4 separate regions of the Homo sapiens genome follow, and regions 2, 3 and 4 are each linked to region 1. The links are contacts of gene promoters, found by promoter capture Hi-C in blood cells and fetal thymus (Javierre and others, 2016). All regions are on one chromosome and are shown on one strand. The core of a region is centred on a gene start or on the middle of the fragment in contact, and the rest is flanking DNA. Distances in the headings are between cores, read along the strand shown.

Region 1 (3,254 bases), core at 296-2,795:
CACACACTTTACAATAGAACGCTTAATATTCCACGAATTCAACATGCTATCACACCTCTGCACCTCAGTCTCTGCACCTCTGGTTCCAACACTGGGGTCACCTTTGTGAAGTCTTCACTGACTTCCCTAAAAGAGACAAGCACCCCGCCTTGCTTTCCACTAGTCTGTGCCTAAGTGCAAGCTCTTACCGCAAAGTACTGCAACTGCCCATGTGGATGACTGACTAGAGCCTAGAAGAGCAGTTAAGAACTTGGACTCTGGAGCCAAATTGAGCAGCTCCCCACTGAGTGGCTATGACCTCTCTGCCAGTTGGGCAGGCCTCTCCGTAACTCAATTTCTCGTCCATAAAGAGAGAGACAAATAACGCCTACTCCAGAAGATTGTTGTGAACACAGAACCAAAACGTGGACCTTTCAAAGTCCCTATGAATCATAAATCATAATAAAAAAAAGAAAACTGAATTGAAAAGGTTTACTGTTTTCTCTGGAGCTCGTAATCACAATTACTCTGCACTTCAGAAAAGCCACCCTCAACATTTGTTTTCTAGGAAATGTCAATAAGCAGGTGGAAATAAAATGCTCCGAAGAACAAACCCGTACGAAGAGACCTACTGCCAAATCTGCTAGTGAGTGCCGGCAATCCACCACTTCCAGACTGAGACCTAAGACGGACTGCCACTTACTTCTCAGCTGCCACTTACTTCTCAGCTGGCGACATAATGCATACTTTCCTACCCTAAGCACTTTGAGTCCCCCCCCCCACCCCCGCTAAGAAAGAAGTATTTAAGCCACGAACTGAGACCACGATGCCACATGCTGATCAGGACACTCACAGTCATGCGTCACTTAACGATGGAGATCCGTTCTGAGAAATGGAGAAATGTCCCCTTAGGCAATTTCTTCGGGCAGTAGAAACCCAGACAAACCCAGATGACACAGCCTACTGCTCTTAGGTCATGAACCTGTACAGCCTGTCACTGCACTGAACACTGCAGGCAACCGTAGCATACTAGTGAGTATCTGCGTATCTAACCATAAAAAAAGGTACAGTAAGAAGACGATATTATAATCTTTGAGACCACGCTGTCCCACATTGACCAGCAACGTCCTTCTGCAGCGCATAATCGTATTTAAAAGTGGATTACAAGAGTCGGAAAAACAAGCGGCGTGATTTGTTGTGGCGGCAACCAGGGAAGAGGCAGGAGAAAGGCAACCGACGAGTTCAAACCACGGAGCCCCAGTCTCGCGACCCCACCTCGCGTCCCCGTCGCCCGCTCAGGGCCCGACGCAGGGGTCCCGGGCTAGGGCGACCTCGGAGAAGCGGGGCGGGGCTTCCCGGCTGGGGCGGATCCCTCCCTCCCTCTCGTCCCGACCCGGCCGCAGCCCTGCCGCGAACGACGGTACCTGAGGACGGCCCCAGATCCGCGGTGCCCATCTCAGCCCTGCTCACACCCTGCATGACAAGGGGTAGGAGAAAGAGGAGAGCCATGCTGCTACCGACGGTCGCTGGCTCCAACCCCGAGCGCCTGCGGGACCAGCCCAGCACTGCCCTCCAGCCCCGGCCTTACGTCACTTCCGTCACCGGGGTCTGTGCCGGCGTCGGCAGGAGGCGGGACCAGGGCGTGGGCGGGGTCAAGTCCGGGAAGCCGCAGGAGGCGGACTCAGGCGCAGCACCCAGCAGTGAGCACGGCGTCGTGCGGTCGGGACCTGGACTTCTGGGTGTGGGAGGAATTTGAGTGCAAAGGTTAAGGTCTTTCAACCTGGCACCCCATTCTGCAATTCTTCTTCCAGTTTTTTTCGGTTTCCTGGGGTTGTGCAAGTTTGCATTAGGCCACAGCCGAGCCACAATCCTTATTTTACTAACTCTTGGACTTCACCTGGTTGTCTTGGAGCCTGACATTTTTAGAAGAGAATGAGACTTCAAAAGCCATTTCCAGTCCCTGCTTTTTCATTTGAGGAACCTGAGACTTAGCTAGTGAAATGGTTTGTGCAGATTCCCACAGCCCAAATCAAATCGGCTTGACCAAGAACTACTTTGTTCTTGGAGAAAAAAACTATTTGCATTACCTTCTCAGCAATTCAGTGTCAAATCAGTTTATCAGGCAGCCTCTCATGAAGAGGTCTGCTCTCTTACCTCTCTGGGTTTGTCTGTTATTTTGCATCTCTCCTATTCCACTGCAGCCACATTGCTAAGTCCTTCAGCGCTTGTGCTCAAACATGCGAATGTCTAATGATCTCACCTGTTTCAATTCTCTGAGTATCATGAACTTTTGTTAAAAATTTTAAATTGCAACACACCTTCTCCTCCTCCTTACCCCGCCCTACTGTTTTTTCATGGCACTTTTCACCTTGCTGTACACTATAATATACACCTTGATATTTGTTTTCTTCTCCTTCTAAAATGTAAGCTCCGTAGAGCTGACATCTTTACTTGGCACTCAATTAGTATTTGTTGAGTGAAAGACTGCATGATTACTAGTGTTAAGGAAAATTTTTAAAGAGGGAAAATCCTTATAAAGACACTATATAAACTAGAGGTATTATCAGCCAGATCATTTTACTTGTATTAATAAATCTCTTAGCTCAGTACTTCTCAAACTTCAACATACATGTGAACCATCTGGGGATCTTGATAAAATGCAGATTTGGATTCAGTAGTTCTAATTCAGGTTGGGTCTTGAGATTTTGTATTTCGGACAAAATGCACAGGGGATGCTGGTGCCCCTTTCAACAGGACCACACTTTGAATCAGAAGAATTTAGCTCAATCTAGACTAAGTTTAGGGAGAATATTTCCTTTGATGTGTTTCTGATGTCCACTATATGAAAGACACCTTCTAGTCGTTGTAAGGATGCAAGGATAAATAACTGATCTTTACCGTTTAGGCGTCTATGGAGTAGGACAAAATATGATATCCAGTTTGTAAACATTTTTGTGGTACTTGTCACAGGCTGGGTTACCCTGGCAGTAAACTCTGAGGTCGAGATTAAGGTATAAGGCATTGATTGATTAGGGAGTGCTCTTGGAATAAACGTCTGTGAAGGGGAGGTGGAGGAAGCAGAGCGGAGGAAGAAGTTGATCTGTGATGCCATCCCAGTAAAGGCTCCCAAGGGGCGCTCTGGAGTTGGGATGGCCTTGTAAAGGTGTCTTGAGTTGGTATGAGGGGCTGGGTCTTAAAGCCCAGCACTGATTAGTCATTGAATACCAACTGTCATGATTTTGGGGCTGTCCATTTCTTTCATGGAGGCATTCCCC
Region 2 (3,254 bases), core at 517-3,016, 600 kb after region 1:
GTTGCCATTGCTTTTGGTGTTTTAGACATGAAGTCCTTGCCCATGCCTATGTCCTGAATGGTGATGCCTAGGTTTTCTTCTAGGGTTTTTATGGTTTTAGGTCTAACATTTAAGTCTTTAATCCATCTTGAATTAATTTTTGTATAAGGTGTAAGGAAGGGATCCAGTTTCAGCTTTCTACATATGGCTAGCCAGTTTTCTCAGCACCATTTATTAAATAGGGAATCATTTCCCCATTTCTTGTTTTTGTCAGGTTTGTCAAAGATCAGATGGTTGTAGATATGCGGCATTATTTCTGAGGGCTCTGTTCTGTTCCATTGATCTATATCTCTGTTTTGGTACCAGTACCATGCTGTTTTGGTTACTGGTAGAGAATCATTTCTAAAACCCAGTATAAAAATCAGCCTCAAGCAGCCATCACCTAGAGGAGGCTGGAAATCTCAAAACTAATTAGAGCGGGCCGGGGGCGGTGGCTCACGCCCATAATCCCAGCACTTTGGGAGGCCGAGGCGGGCAGATCACGAGGTCAGGAGATCGAGGCCATCCTGGCTAACACAGTGAAACCTGTCTCTACTAAAAATACAAAAAATTAGCCGGGCATGGGGGCGAGCGCCTGTAGTCCCAGCTACTCGGGAGGCTGAGGCAGGAGAATGGCGTGAACCCGGGAGGCGGAGCTTGCAGTGAGCCGAGATCGCGCCACTGCACTCCAGCCTGGGCGACAAAGCGAGACTCCGTCTCAAAAAAAAAAAAAAAGAAAGAAAATGATTCATTTTCCCCACCAATACTCCCTGCAGCCTGTTAAGGTCAAAGCCTCTGGTGGAGGCTGCACAGGTAGTGATATGGGAGTATTGATAACTGTTCTTTCTTCCCCAGTGACTGGTATGGGCCTTCACTGGAATATTTCTCTCTGTCAACTCTGTGCACGGGGTTGAGTCCTGGCCATGATAGTATGAATACTGTCATTCAAGTTTCCCCTGGCCTTACCAGACTGTACAGATAACAGGAACCACCCCAACTCAAATTTCCCTGGTTTTTTCCATAGCCTGGGGATGGTGGACCTTTAATACCCTGTAAGGTATCTTTCAAATATTTCTTGAGGTCCCTACAAGGTGTCTCCCAGGTACTGCTGCATAACATCCCTCCTCTAAGCTGGCCCATGGCTTCTCCTGGCCACTGGCTGGCCAGCAGTGTCTCCTGTTTGCCCCTTCCATGTACTTCCACAGCTGAGGCTCAGGAAAGCTGCAGATGTCCAAGTGACACGGCATTCTCTTTTAAGTAGGAGGAGCGCTTCCTTCCCCTACCCCCTCATGCCAACCACAATGAGGACACCCAGCACTGATGCCCAGCAATGTGGCTTCTGCTCCAGTATATTACAGAGTTCGAATTCAGAATTTCAGTTTCCCTTTGTAGGCTGCTGACTGCTCAGAGGAGGTAGGCTTTCATTCTTAAATATGTACTGATTGCCTGCTCTGTGTAGATGCCTACAACGTGCACAGGGATGAGTGAAACCGCCAAGGACTCTGACCATGAAATTTTCAGCCTAGTCATGGAGAAAGATGATGACCAAGAAATAAAAGCAAATAAATACACAACCACAAATTGAGATAAGTGCTATGAAGGAAACAGGCAGAGAGGTGTGAGAGAAAATAACAAAGGAGCTACTTTCGATCAGAGGGTCAGAAAAGGTCTCCAAGCTCATGACAGTTTATAATAATAACTATTAATAGGACATATTAGAAATCCAGACTTGGAAAAAGGGAGGGGAGGGGTTTTTAGAAGAAATTTATTGGGGAGGATGGGGGTGGTACAAAGAGGAGGAGGAGTTAATATTTTGAGACATTACTATGACCCAGTAACATTCTAAGAACTTTACACATGTTATATTCTTTAATCCTAACACAACCCTATGTAGGAACTACTGTTAACCCTGCTTAACAGAGGTATAAGATGAAGCACAGAAGGGTTAAGTAACTTGCCCTTGTCACACAGCTACTAAGTGGTGAAGGCAGAATTTGAATCCGAGCAGTTTCAGACCCTAAGGAAGAAAAGACTTTGGATTATTTTAGCAACTTAAAGACCAGTGTGACTGAAATGGAAAGGAAAACGGGGAGGGAAATGGGAGAGAAATGGAGTTGGCAAAGCAGGCAGGGCCTAGAGCATGCATGGAAAGGTGGTCATATTTCATCCTCAGAGAGTGTCATGGCTGATTAATTAATGCTGCTCCAAAGGAACAATACTGTTCTGAGGAGCCAGCTGTGGTCATGAAAATAATGATCACCTCTATTACTTTCTTAGGCTGAGGTATTAGAAAATGAGAGTGCTTCCTTTATGCTGAGAAGAAGAAAGGAGCCTAAGATCTTGGGGATGGAATTACCCTCTCTGGCAGATAGGCCAACTTCATGCATAACCCAGGAAACTGCACCACTTCCCAGGACCTACCGGTAGCAACCCATTCCCTGCATTATAGAATGACGGATGGCCAAATTAAACAGTATTCCACCAGGGGGTGAGCACTGGGTTAGTAATACAGGGATGGGGAAGGGCATGGAGAGGAACCAGTTATCAGAGTGGGCCTCTCTAGGGGACAATCTCCACTTTGGCAGGAGCCGCCTGGGGAAACGCCTGTGTTCCTGGCCACGGGCTGCAACTCACAGCCTCTCTACGTGGCTGCCTAACTGGGACAATAAATCCCTGGAGATGAAGAAGAAGCAGTGTCTGGTGTACCCACCAAGTAAACTCTGGTAAGTTATATCCACAGGAAAAGTGAAGAGGCAACAATCTCTTGATTCTTAAGGTCAGCATCTTGTTTGGTTGCTCTCTCCTGAATTCTCTTAGGAGATTCCTCCCACGCTTAGGAAATCTCAAATTTGTCCCACAAAGAATATTAACTCAGTCTAGCCTCCTAAACTGAGTCTAACCTCATCTCTAGTGACATAAACTAGGTAGAATTGGGAGGGGATTTTCCAAATTCTGTTTGCTTGCTTGTAATGGTAAACTTTTCCTTTCTTTTTTTTTTTTTTTTTTTTTTTTTGAGAAGGAGTTTTGCTCTTTTTGCCCAGGCTGGTGTGTAATTGTGCGATATTGGCTCACTGCAACCTCTGCCTCCCAGGTTCAAGTGATTCTCCTACCTCAGCCTCCCAAGTATCTGGGATTACAGGCACCCACCACCATGCTCAGCTAATATTTTTATTTTTAGTACAGATGGGATTTCACCATGTTGGTCAGCTGGTCTCGAACTCCAGACCTCAGGTGAT
Region 3 (3,254 bases), core at 509-3,008, 540 kb after region 1:
AATGAAAGAAATCTTTGTTTTAATGAGGTTTATGCTGTGATGGGAGCAAATAGCCAGCAAGTAAGCAGAGAAAGAAGAAAGGGTGGGAGGAGGAAAGAAGGAAAGGAGGGAGAGGAGAGAGATCTGAAAGTGATATTCTATTGAAAAAATACAATAGTAATAAGGTAGAGAGTATCTTGGGGCAAGGGCTAGCTCCTCTAGCTAAGCAGTTGGACTTCTCCAACTGCCTCCTCAGAAGGCCTCTCTTAGGAGATGACATTTTGTCTGAGTGCTGATTGATGGAAAGGAAGTCAGAGTGGGTTAAGATCTTGTGAACAAGGACTCCAGCCAGAGGGAGTGGCAAACAGCAAAGGCCTTGGGACCAGAACAAATTTAACGTTTCCAGAGACAAAGAAAAGCCAATGAGGGACACGAAAGAAGTGTTATAAGTGGCATGTTATGAGTGGCAGAGGAGGGTATAGGCTAGGTCCTAGGTATTGGTGGAGTCAATTCAAGTAAGCCCTTGAAGGCCCAAATTGAGCTTAGATTTTATTTTAATTACAATGGGAAATGATGGGAGGGTTTTAAGCAGGAGAGTCATATGATGAAATGTAATTTTCAGAAAGACTATTCTGTGTGCTGTATGAAGAATGAAGGTGAGTTCTCACGGGTGGAGAAAGGCTGGAAGCAGGCAGACCAGGTAGGACACTGTGGGAGTCATTCAGGTGAAAGGTTGCTCAGGTGATCCTCAGCGATGGAGCAGGTGAGATGTGGTTGGATTGGGGATATATTTTGGAGGCAGAGAGGACAGGACTTCCCAAAGAATTAGATATGAGGGAAGAAAGAGATCAGAGATGATTCCCAGATGTTAGACCTGAGCCATAGGCTGATAGGTAAGGCAATGTCATTTGCTAAGATAAGGAAGAGCAGTGGAGAGATGGTTTGGGATTGATGGGGTAAAGATGGTCAGACATCTAAGTGGACATTCCAAGTAGACAGTTAGACATACAGACTGGAAATCAGGACCACACCTGGGAGATAATGCCTTCAATCCCAGAACTTTGGGAAACTGAGGTGGGCAGATCATGAAGTCAGGAGATCGAGACCATCTTGACCAACAAGGTGAAACCCCGTCTTTACTAAAATACAAAAAATTAGCCAGGCGTGGTGGTGTGCGCTTGTAGTCCCAGCTACTCAGGAGACTGAGGCGGGCGAATCGCTTGAACCCGGGAGGCAGAGGTTGCAGTGAGCTGAGATTGCACCACTGTACTCCAGCCTGGCGACAGAGCAAGACTCTGTCTCCAAAACGAAAAAAAAAAAGAAAAGAAAAAAAAAAAGAAAATTGTATTTATATAAAGTGTAATGTAAACTTACATTATACAAAATATCCAATTCAGTTTTACCAAATCGAAAAGAAAAAGCTTGACACTATTAGAAAGTGATATTCACTATTTTTTATGGAATTAAGTATTCTCAAAAACTTTTATTTAAATAACTCTTAAGTTACCTCTATCAACACACAAAAGTTGATTCAGTTAAAGAAAAAACAAAAAAAACTTAATTTCTCTGTGGGCATCAAAATCTGATAGAAGCAAGAAATGATTCAGTTGCAGTATCAGAAACATAGTTTTTATATCAACAAAATTCCTTCTTTGTTTCTTTGTTGGGTTTTTTTTTTTTTTTTTTTTTTTTTTTGACTAAGTCTTGCTCTGTCACACAGGCTGGAGTGCCGTGGCTCCATCGTACCTCACTGCAACCTCAACCTCCTGGGCTCAAGCGATCCTCTTGACTCAGCCTCCCAGATAGCTGGAACTATAGGCATGCACCACCACACCCAGCTAAAACAAAATTCTTATAAAACACAATCATTGATGCTAGATAAAATTCTGTGTCACTGATTCATAGCTTCTGATGGGTATAGTTAAAATCCTTCCTTTGGGGTGGAAAAAAGGGAGAAAGGTGCCCTCAGAGCAGTATTTTTCTTAATATTCTAGTGATGTCCAAGATGGCCTGCATTAATTATAATAAACTGATTTTGGTTGGATTCCTCTATTCTGCTCTGGTAGGGTGCTCAGGCTAACCTGTTCTGAAGATCTCAGAGATGTGGTATCAGGTGAGAAGTCCAAATGCCACATACCGAAGCTTCCATTGAAATGAGCATGGAGAAATGACTAGAGAGATTACCTGCTTCTACTCTTAATACCCAATTAGACCTATCTTGAGAAATCGACTATTGTTGAGTGTCAATTACGGTGATATTTACTATTCATTAAATATCTCCTGTAGGCCAGGCTTATGCATGATCTCATTTTAACCACCAAAACAAATTCAGGTGTTTTTTTTTGTTTTAGAGGTAAGAAAACTAAAGATCAACTAGATTATTATTTGCTCAGAGGTAGAACATGGGTTTATTCACAGTTGTGTCTAAATCTAAATGTAATTCTCTGCCTAGTTTATTATATTGTGCCCATCAGTAAAAATAAACATCACTGAAAATTAACATTGATAACAGAGATAGCTGAAGATGTAGGGGTGAGTTGTTACAAAGACTGTAACTTACTTTCACATGGTTCTGCAAACACATACAGCTGATCCTTATTATCTGCAGTAGTCACATTCTATACAGTCTCTATGAACACTACATTAGCAAATACTGAGCCATTGCTCCCAGGAGAAATACAGGGTTAGGTTCTTGCGAGCCTCTGGTCACAACATTTCTGTCAATGAACATATATATATATAAAAAATCTTGTTTCATGTGTGTTTCTATTTAAAGTCACCTTATTTAATATATATTTTTCACTCATTAATATTGAACTCATGGCAAACTATACTATAACTCATGCCTGAACTAAGCTTCTCTAACACAGATATTTTCTGTTAGGCACATCACAGCCTTTTTGAGCTTAGGATCACTAGGCAGTACTTCAGCACTATGCTCAGGGTCCATTTTAAATAGTGAAATCATCCACAGGAAAAAAAATGCAAAAAAAATGTGACACTGAATAAACTGTGGAAAGGACACTTGCTGAGTTTTGGGGGATTGAGGAGAGATGCAGGATGCATGAGCCCTGCCATCATGGAGCTTTTAATCTATTACTAGAGGCAAAATTAACACAGTGAAATATTCACAAGACAATATAATTGAGCAGGTGAATGGGGTGAGGACAGTGTTTTATATTACACTATCTGTTCTTGGTGGCTTTTATCTTTCCTTTTTCCAGGTTTTTCAGGCACCAGTGGTACTTTCTATATGAGCTTCTTTTAGGGTAAGG
Region 4 (3,254 bases), core at 492-2,991, 520 kb after region 1:
TACTTTTTGTTTTCATAGCTTTAAACAAACAAACAAACAAACAAAAAACAGGGCATTAGGATTGAGACTTAATGAAAAGTTGAGATATCACATTTCTTTTCAATTCTTCATATTGGACTCCGCAAGAGAAATAAAGGGGCGGGGAACACATTGTAATAAGAAATAACATGCATCATGAAATTGTTAAACAAGGCTGGGCACGGTGGTTCACACCTGTAATCCCAGCACTTTGGGAGGCCAAGGCCGGCAGATCACCTGAGGTCAGGAGTTCGAGACCAGCCTGGCCAAGATGGTGAAACCCTGTCTCTACTAAAACTACAAAAATTAGCCAGGCTTGGTGTTACGTGCCTGTAGTCCCAGCTACTCTGGAGGCTGAGGCAAGAGAATTGCTTGAACCCAGGAAGCGGAAGTTGCAGTGAGCTGAGATCACACCACTGCACTCCAGCCTGGGCGACAGAGTGAGTGAGACCCAGTCAAAAAAAAAAAAAAAAAAAAAAAGAAAAGAAAAGAAAGAAAAAGAAGAAAAAGAAGGGAAGAAAGCAAGCAAGCAAGCAAATGAGCGAGCAAGAAAGGAAGAAAGAAAGAGAAATTGTTAAGACAATACAAATAAATCAAATCAGGGGGATGGAGGAGCATGTGTGATTCTTCTCAAAGGAGGGGTTTTGCAAGGAATGGTCTATATTAGCTTGTAAAGTATGTACAAAATCCATTTTTCTCTGGGCACTTGTCCAATTCTGTCTCTTTTCCACTTTCAGTCAATGCTGATGGTGTGGTAAAGCTTTTTTTATTCAGAAAGAACTCTAGTCAACCTTGACACTTTTTTTTTTTTTTTTGAGATGGAGTCTTGCTCTGTCACCGAGGCTGGAGTGCAGTGGCACGATCTCGGCTCACTGGAAACTCTGCCTCCCAGGATCACGCCATTCTCCTGCCTCAGCCTCCCGAGTAGCTGGGACTACAGGCGCCCATCACCTCGCCCGGCTAATTTTTTGTATTTTTAGTAGAGACGGGGTTTCACCGTGTTAGCCAGGATGGTCTCGATCTCCTGACCTCATGATCCGCCCGCCTTGGCCTCCCAAAGTGCTTGGATTACAGGCATGAGCCACTGTGCCCGGCCGACACTTCTAAACTTAGCAATCCATTTCCTTGACCCTATCAGTTTGTTGTCACTTCCAACCTAGGGCCCCTCAAATGGCAGAAGTAAGTTGAACACAAATTTAGTGATGTTCCTTCCTTGTTTCATTTTATAGCTGCCATTCATCAAATTGCCTTCTTCCTACATCTGCTACCTACTATACAACCTCATTGACACTCTAAACAACACACCAGATAAAACCAGTTTGTTCACAGATCATATGCCAAGGCAACCATATACCAGGCAATTCAATTTTGGACTTTCTGGAATTTCAGGGAGAATTTATCCACAAAGAGCATATGCAGAACCCAGGTTCCCTCTGAAAAAAATTCTGAATTAGTTGCAAAATTCCCATGACACATCATAATTAGGGAGAGATGGACAAGAAGATAAGAGTATGGCTCCAATCAAGGAGACTTCATCGCATATAAATATTTGCATGGCAATCATGAGATCATGCATGCAAACAGCTAGCCCAGGGCCTGCTATATAAAACCATCAAAAGCTTAGTTTACCCCGTGTGGGGCTATCTCAAAGGCATCCCACCCTAATCTGAGGTAACAAGTATTCTGGAAGAATCCAAAGCTGTGGAAGAGGAGAAACACAGAGGAAAGAGAAAGTTGTTTGATTTGTGTTGGTTTGTTTTTTATCCGAACCTGTTTCAGCATTCTTACAGGGAAAAGCCAAGCCTTACCATCTTCCTCATTATTAAACAAGCTTAGAAAGCCTGCAAAATCTTATTTTTTAGCAGACGTTGGTAGCATATACTGTGTATCAATGGAACTGAATGCTCAAGTTAGAGCATAAATAATTTTTGTACATAATTTATATGTTTCTGTAAAGCAAAAGGAATTATGTTTGCATCAGAAGCTTTTCTCACGTTATTGCCAAACTCCCTCTTTTTTCTGTCTGATGTAAGGTCACGCTGTTGCACAATTGGGAACACTGGGGTAATAACGGGAGACAGAAAGGACAGGGAACTGTGCATTTCAGTTTGTTCAAATACATTGGTAACTCATCTCTGTCTCCTCCACACTTCCTCCTGGCTCTATGGGTCATGGTAGAGGAACAATTACGTGGAAGAAATCAAATATGAATGACTGCTTTCCCCCTCCAGCTCTCTTCCCTACTTCCTCCTTGTGATGGGTTTATCACTTTTCCCTCCAGGGTTGTAAATAAAGGCTTCTGGGGTTCTCACGGCTGGAGAGAGAAGTAGTCCCCTCCTATCAGCCCTTACAAACTGTTTTTCAGCAAATCGTGATGAGAACATCATTGTGATATACAGTATCTAATTAATTTCTAACTAATATTAATATTTTGGCCCGGCGCAGTGGCTTGCACCTGTAATCTCAGCACTTTGAAAGGCCGAGGCACCACTTCACCTATTCTATTTGTTTTCTATAACAAAAATTAAGCCCAGAGCACTTAAATGCTTCATTCAAAAACCACCCACAAGATAGTGGTGGAGGTACATATTGAGGTAAGAATCTTTCTACCACATCATGATACTCCTGAGTCAACCCCACGGATATGCTATATTGAGTCATGAAAATGTGACAATATATTTGGGAAAATAGTCTGAGGATCTTATCCAATATAAATACAATTTGCCAACATTTTCACTTATATTCTAAAGCAACATGCTCACAACTAACAATTATGTCTTCATTTTATGCTTTTGTAATAAGGTAGTCTGTCTAGTCTACCTTACTACTAACTCTGGTGTTACCCTTTGTTGTCTAAAAAAGTACCTAGGTTTGACTCATGGCAATGTCTCTTCTCTGGATCTGTTCCTCTGGCTATGCCTCAGTTAATACAATGTCTTCCTAATGCAGTTTCAATGGCCAACAAAAGAGATGCTTGAGCACTAAGAAGAATCCTTTCCAGTCCAATGAGAAACAAAAGTTCCCGTGAATTCCCTTTGATAGTTACACGTTCAATATTCACTCATTCATTCACTTACGAATTTCTTCTGAAGTCCCAGGCGCTGGATTAAGTGCTGCAGAGGCCAATGCCTAATAAGATACTGTCCCTGGACTCATGGAGTCCATAATCTCATGAGGACAAAATGTGTAAACCCTGCACTGTGGATATGGCCAGAGAAAGCAGTAAATAATCGAGG

Evidence for each region. The method cuts DNA at HindIII sites, captures the fragments that hold promoters and counts their contacts. A CHiCAGO score of 5 or more calls a contact.
Region 2: a fragment that was not itself captured here is called in contact with the fragment with the promoter of IFNGR1 in region 1 in 1 of 17 cell types (monocytes); the score reaches 5.4 in monocytes.
Region 3: a contact is called between a fragment that was not itself captured here and the fragment with the promoter of IFNGR1 in region 1, in 1 of 17 cell types (monocytes). The highest score is 5.8, in monocytes.
Region 4: a contact is called between a fragment that was not itself captured here and the fragment with the promoter of IFNGR1 in region 1, in 2 of 17 cell types (fetal thymus and M1 macrophages). The highest score is 5.9, in fetal thymus.

What each region holds. Positions count from the first base shown.
Region 1 is chr6:137,217,840-137,221,093 of GRCh38, forward strand. It overlaps IFNGR1 (interferon gamma receptor 1), which reads right to left and starts at 1,546. Exons shown (of 7, transcript NM_000416.3): 1 at 1,404-1,546. The coding sequence starts at 1,488. RefSeq lists silencers at 727-776, 1,237-1,456, 1,497-1,726 and enhancers at 1,186-1,916, 1,767-2,016. The HindIII fragment of the contact is 10,215 bases long and covers 1-3,254 here.
Region 2 is chr6:137,814,905-137,818,158 of GRCh38, forward strand. No RefSeq gene overlaps it. Among named protein-coding and RNA genes, the nearest start is that of TNFAIP3, 51 kb to the right of the region's middle. RefSeq lists enhancers at 891-940, 1,271-1,360. The HindIII fragment of the contact is 7,180 bases long and covers 1-3,254 here.
Region 3 is chr6:137,755,222-137,758,475 of GRCh38, forward strand. No RefSeq gene overlaps it. Among named protein-coding and RNA genes, the nearest start is that of LINC02539, 18 kb to the left of the region's middle. The HindIII fragment of the contact is 721 bases long and covers 1,399-2,119 here.
Region 4 is chr6:137,732,910-137,736,163 of GRCh38, forward strand. The region is part of intron 1 of LINC02539 (long intergenic non-protein coding RNA 2539); the gene reads right to left. Among named protein-coding and RNA genes, the nearest start is that of LINC02539, 4.5 kb to the right of the region's middle. The HindIII fragment of the contact is 212 bases long and covers 1,636-1,847 here.